Linked DNA regions of Homo sapiens: region 1 is linked to region 2. The links are contacts of gene promoters, found by promoter capture Hi-C in human tissues and cell types (Jung and others, 2019). All regions are on one chromosome and are shown on one strand. Each heading gives the region's core, a stretch centred on a gene start or on the middle of the fragment in contact. The rest is flanking DNA. Distances are from core to core; before and after follow the strand shown.

The links. Contacts are between HindIII fragments. The study calls those that stand out against the background at their distance.
Region 1: a contact is called between a fragment that was not itself captured here and the fragment with the promoter of SDR42E1 in region 2, in 1 of the 25 tissues and cell types used here (IMR-90 fibroblasts).

The regions. Positions count from the first base shown.
Region 1 is chr16:82,157,910-82,160,621 of GRCh38, forward strand. The region is part of intron 2 of MPHOSPH6 (M-phase phosphoprotein 6); the gene reads right to left. Among named protein-coding and RNA genes, the nearest start is that of MPHOSPH6, 11 kb to the right of the region's middle. The HindIII fragment of the contact is 4,962 bases long and covers 1-2,712 here.
Region 2 is chr16:82,010,132-82,013,006 of GRCh38, forward strand. SDR42E1 (short chain dehydrogenase/reductase family 42E, member 1) reads right to left here and starts at 1,339. Exons shown (of 3, transcript NM_145168.3): 1 at 1,256-1,339. RefSeq lists a silencer at 1,114-1,263 and enhancers at 1,504-1,593, 1,604-1,683. The HindIII fragment of the contact is 11,252 bases long and covers 1-2,875 here.

The DNA of each region.
Region 1 (2,712 bases), core at 73-2,572, 150 kb after region 2:
TTACTTGCATGATAACATTAAGATGTCATCTTTTACTGTGTTGACATTTGCAGACTGTGCAAAAGCAACTCTGGGTAAAACGAATCTTAGCATGAGTGAAAGCAGCAGTGATACCAGACTACCCTGGTAGTTACATTCTTCACTGCCAGGCCCTCACAGTTCAAAGAAAAATGCCAGTTTCACATTAGAATGTTCTTGATGACACAGCACAAATTTATTTCTGTTAATCTTAGCCCTCAATTACTTTAAAAAATATTCGGTATACGAAATTGAAACTCTATATATAAGATACTTCTTAGCCGGGCGCAGTGGCTCACACCTGTAATCCCAGCAGTTTGGGAGGCCGAAGCAGGAGGATCACGAGGTCAGGAAATTGAGATCATCCTGGCTAATACGATGAAACCCTGTCTCTACTAAAAAAATACAAAAAAAAAAAAAAATTGGCTGGGCATAGCGGCGGGTGCCTGTAGTTCCAGCTACATTGGAGGCTGAGGCAGCAGAATGGTGTGAACCCGGGAGGTGGAGTTTGCAGTGAGCGGAGATCTCGCCACTGCACTCCAGCCTGGGTGACAGAGCGAGACTCCGTCTCAAAAAAAAAAAAAAAAAAAAAAAAAGATACTTCATCATAGTCAAATAATCTAACTGCACTTGTGTGACTGAACCGAGAGATGAATTAGACACTTTTTTTCAATGTCACACCGTAACTATGGTTTTGCGGGTTTGGGTTCTTTGGCAGACATTTTCTTGAAAATAAATAAAGTGAACCTGACACTTCAAGGGGAATAACTGACACTATTTACTGCCAATAACAAAATTCAAGCTTTCAAGCAAAAGTTAGAATTCCGAATAGCTTTTATCTGTCATCTTGGGCTTGATAGCTTCCCAACACTTAAAAGACTTTTCTGTTGAAACCCACGGTGATACTAATGAATGTGATTTTTGATATTGTATAACAAGATGAGTTAACACTGGGAAAATCTATACAACTCATTTTCCAAATGACAGATGCAGGATGTTAAGAAATCATATACAGGTAAAAGATCTATTTGGAATACAAGACAGACCAAGACATGAAAAATTCACTGGTGTTTTCAGATTCCACGTTGCAATTTACTCTGAAGAAACTACTACTGACTGAGTTTTGGAGTTGTACCAAAGAATTATCTGAAAAGGCCATTGAGATACTCCTCTCTTTTCAACTGTATCACCTGTGTGAGGGGGATTTTCTTTATATACTTCAACCAATACAACATGCTTTAACAGGCTGACTGCAGGCGTTCAGAGTCTAGCTGTCTTCTATTATGCCACAATGTTAAAGAGATTTGCAAAAACAGAAAACAGTGCCACTCTTCTCGTTAAATTTTTTGTCTTGAAAAAGTTATTTGTCATTAAAAATGTGTTAGGTAATGAATTTGTTATTTAAATAATTTTTAAAATTTCTTACATAGTAAATATTAACAAATATAAATCACACAAAACACTCTTTAGGTGTTCTAAATAAATTTTTTTTTTTGAGATGGAGTCTCATTCTGTTGCCCAGGCTGGAGTGCAGTAGCGCAATCTCGGCTCAATGCAACCTCCGCCTCCTGGATTCCAGTGATTCTCCTGCCTCAGCCTCCTGAGAAGCTGGGACTACAGGCACACGCCATCATGCCTGGCTAATTTTTTTTGTATTTTTAGTAGAGACGGGGTTTCACCATGTTAACCATGATGGTCTCGATCTCCTGACGTCGTGATCCGCCTGCCTCGGCCTCCCAAAGTGCTGGGATTACAGGTGTGAGCCACCGTGCCCGGCCTAGGAGTTCTAAATAATTTTTATAAATGCAAATAGCTTCTGAGTTCCAAAACTCTGAGAACCACTGTGATTTTGGTTCCTCTCTCACTGGCCCTCTAGTCTGGCTAGAAACTCACTTACTTCAGAACCGCCTCTCCCTGAGGGAATCTAAATTTGGGCACAGAACTTGCTGTTCAGCTTTTTCTATGAACTTGGGATTCCCTCTCAATTGCCCAATCTTATTCCTTATAGAGGGAGCAGCTGATGAGACCTCCTCAATTCCAAAGTAAATCATCTCTCTCAGGAAAGCACCATACATCAAAGCTTTCACTTAAGGCAAAGGAGGGACCCAGAGAAAGACAACCTCCAGAGGTCAGGACTGGATTCAGAGCAGGACTACTGGCCCCTCAGAGGTTTTTCCCACGGGTTTGCATTGACACCGTATCTTTAATATAAAAAGGAGCACAGGTGTTTTGTATCTACATGCATGGTTTTAAGAATTAGAAAAATTAATTACAGAGTTGGCAAGCAAGTGAAATATTTCAAAACTTACCTCTTTTTGTATTTTAATTATCCAATTTTCATTAATGAGGATAATTTTCAGGCTAAAACACACCCACAAAATTATTTCATAAATTTCGCAGATGAGAAACTACTGCTCAGAAAAAGCTGGACTTGCCTAAAGCCACAAATACCATGGCAAAACTCCAGTTAGAAAACCCTTCTCAGTGGGTCTCACATTCCTGCACATTTTTTGAGTGAGGCACTAACTGCCCGGTTGCTCTGGACTATCTTTGCAAGGATATCTGCATAGCGAGCAGCCTTGAAAAACAGTCTTCCTCTAAAGCGAAGGGCAGATTTGCTTACTGTCCAGCATAATACAGATGCCTCTCTTGGGGCCGAAGGCAAGTCTGCTTGTGGTCCGTTATCCAAGGTTC
Region 2 (2,875 bases), core at 89-2,588:
TAAATTACCCAGTCTTGGGTATGTTTTTATTAGCAGCATGAGAATGGATTAATACAGGTAGTTTAAAGGTTTAGCATTTAAGCCTCAGGACAATCTTCCGAAGTTGTTACTAGTATTATCATCAGCTTTCAGAAATGAGGAAAATAGATCAGAGGTTAGGAACCTTGCCCACAAATTATGCAGGTCATAAGGGGTTGGGCAGGGTTCAGGACTTGAAGCCGGGTCTGTATGACTCTTAACCACTACATGTAATGCCGCACAATAAGGCTGGGACAATACAGATTCGCTTAGGTCATTATCTTATCACTGTGAAAGGAAAATAAATCTTGGGGTCCCAAGATCACTAAGCTAAAGGGAAAAGTCAAGCTGAGAACTGCTTAGGGCAAACCTGCCTCCCATTCTATTCATGTATCTCTGCTCACTAAAATAAAGGCATATCTGATTGCTTCCTTTGGAGAGGCTAATCAAACTCAAAATAATGCAACCATTTGTCTCTTACCTACCTATGACCTGGAAGCCCCCTCCCCGTTTCGAGTTGTCCCGCCTTTCCAGACCGAAAAACATGTTCATCTTACATCTGTTCTTGTCTCATGTCTCCCTAAAATGTAGAAAACGAAACTGGGCTCTGACCACATTAAGAATACATCGTCAGGACCGCCTGAGGCTGTGTCATGGGTACATGTCTTCAACCTTGGCAAAATAAACTTTCTAAATGAACTGAGACCCGTCTCAGATTTTCAGGGCTCACTCCACCTCCACAATTTCTGTCACATCTGATTCATCTGGTATTATGACTAGCCTATAAGGTTTTGTTTAAACCTACTTACCTTTTCCCAACAAATACATGCAGTTTAAATGGGAACCTGTCACTGCCACTTTTAAGTGGCAAACCAGAACCAAGTGATAAAGAGGAGGTAATCGTTCTCCCAAAGTGTGCAGAAAATCAAAGACAGGAATCAAGTATAGCCAGCCACCTGTGGAAAGTTCGGAGCTTGGGGCCCCGATGTCCTTAAAAACAAAAAATGCGGAGGGCCAGTGTTTGAGGCCTTGGCGACATTCTAGAAAGCCAAGCTGCGCCCGGTCCCCTGGGATCAGGAAGACATCTGAAAGGGGATACTCCTTCCCGCCACCCTGCTCAGTCATTCACCACCGTCCCCCACCCCCGGGACCGCCACCTGTCGCGTTCCAGGCCGAGGCGGTCCAGGGTCCCCGCGGAAGGGCGGCGGCCCCCCAACCCCAGCCCAGGCCCACTCACAGCTGCAGGAACAAGGGCGCGGCAGACGGCTACAGCAGGCAGAGAGGCCCAGGCCTCCTAGCTACCCATCACCACAGCTGGGGCGCCGAAGCCGTCGGACCTGCCTCCTGGAGCCACTTCCGGGCCTCTCTAGGAAGCCTGGAGGTCTCGGAGTCTCTATGACGCGCAGGTGTCTCCTTCACCTTCACCGGCGTTGAGGTAGCAGGAGGTTCGCTTCATGAATTCCCCCACGTTCTCTGGCTGTGCGTTCCGCCGTGGCGGGAACCCTTTTAGGGTCACGTCTTCCCCCACGTCCCCTGTCTGTGCGTTCCGCCGTGGTGGGAACCCTGTTAGGGCCACGTCAACTGCTCTTCCCACCTCCAGTGTCTGCTTTTAGACTTTCACCTCCATCTTTGTTTATCCCCAAGGCCAAGACCAGTGCCTGATAAATAGGCACTCAGGTCAGCATTGCTTGGGTGGATGGATGATGGAAAAGGCTCTATAGGGAGGCAGAATATTCACTCTCCATGTATCTCTTTAAGTTTCTATTATCTCTGAGTTTCCATATCTATGTGTGCCCATAGGTTTTCCTGTGTCCCTAATTTTCCTTATTTCTCTTTGTTCTGGTCGCCAAGCAGGCAGTGATGCCAAGACTAATCTTTGTTGCTGAAGGAACCAAGGAATGCAGAAAGGAAAGTTGGCATCCTCACTCAGAGGTCTCCTTTTGAGGCCCATCTTTTGTCTCCTCATCATGAGTGTGGTTCTGTGGATGGTTGCAGACTGTACACGTGTATGGACATGCATCCTGGAATGGACCCCTGGCTGGGGAGGATTTCATTTTAGTGTCTTGGAGGATGGAAGTTTTGACTTCATGTGGTGCTCTTGCCGATAGATCTGGTACCAAAGGCAGACTCAGAGAGGTTCATATCAATTGCCTGATTTACTGCTCAGTTTTCACTAAGCACACACAGTCACAAGGACAAAGCTCAAGTCCTAGGATATAAAAATTAATGAAGCCCAGGTGAAGAAATCAAGAAGTGCCAGTCCCTGGCACTGGCCTCTCTCATAGGATGCTCTGGCTTTCCTGCCTGTCTTGTCCTCACCTATTAGGCAGGCATAAGTCACAGGAGACTTCTTGTGCTAAGCAGTCTTAAAGAACAGCTTTGCAGTGGCTGCTTAGGATACATAAAAATTAGAAGAGAAGAGGAAGGGTATTCAGGGGGCTGAGAGACCAGCTATATGCTCTTGAGGCCAGCAGCTAAGGAAGAAAAGACCCACTGAGGATGCAGTAAAGAAGACAGACTTCCTTTGGGGAATTACAGGATCCTCTGAGGGATACCCAGATTTAGAGTGTGTGGATAAACATGAGAAATGGTGAATTTAAATGTTAGTATTCTTGTGCCACCGAGGACTCTTTTAAAATATAATCAGGCGTGTTTTAAAGGAAAATTACAAACTCTATAATTGCTTCCTTAGCTTCCATCATAATTTAGTGAGTTGATTTTATAAAGGTCTGACCAAGAGATCTAAGACAGAAATGACTGGAGAAAGAAATTAACTTCAATGTGAGTTTGTATATCAGTGTTTGTTTAGTATTGTCTTCCCCCAATAATATGTCCAGGCAGTGGATGCATCTCAGAA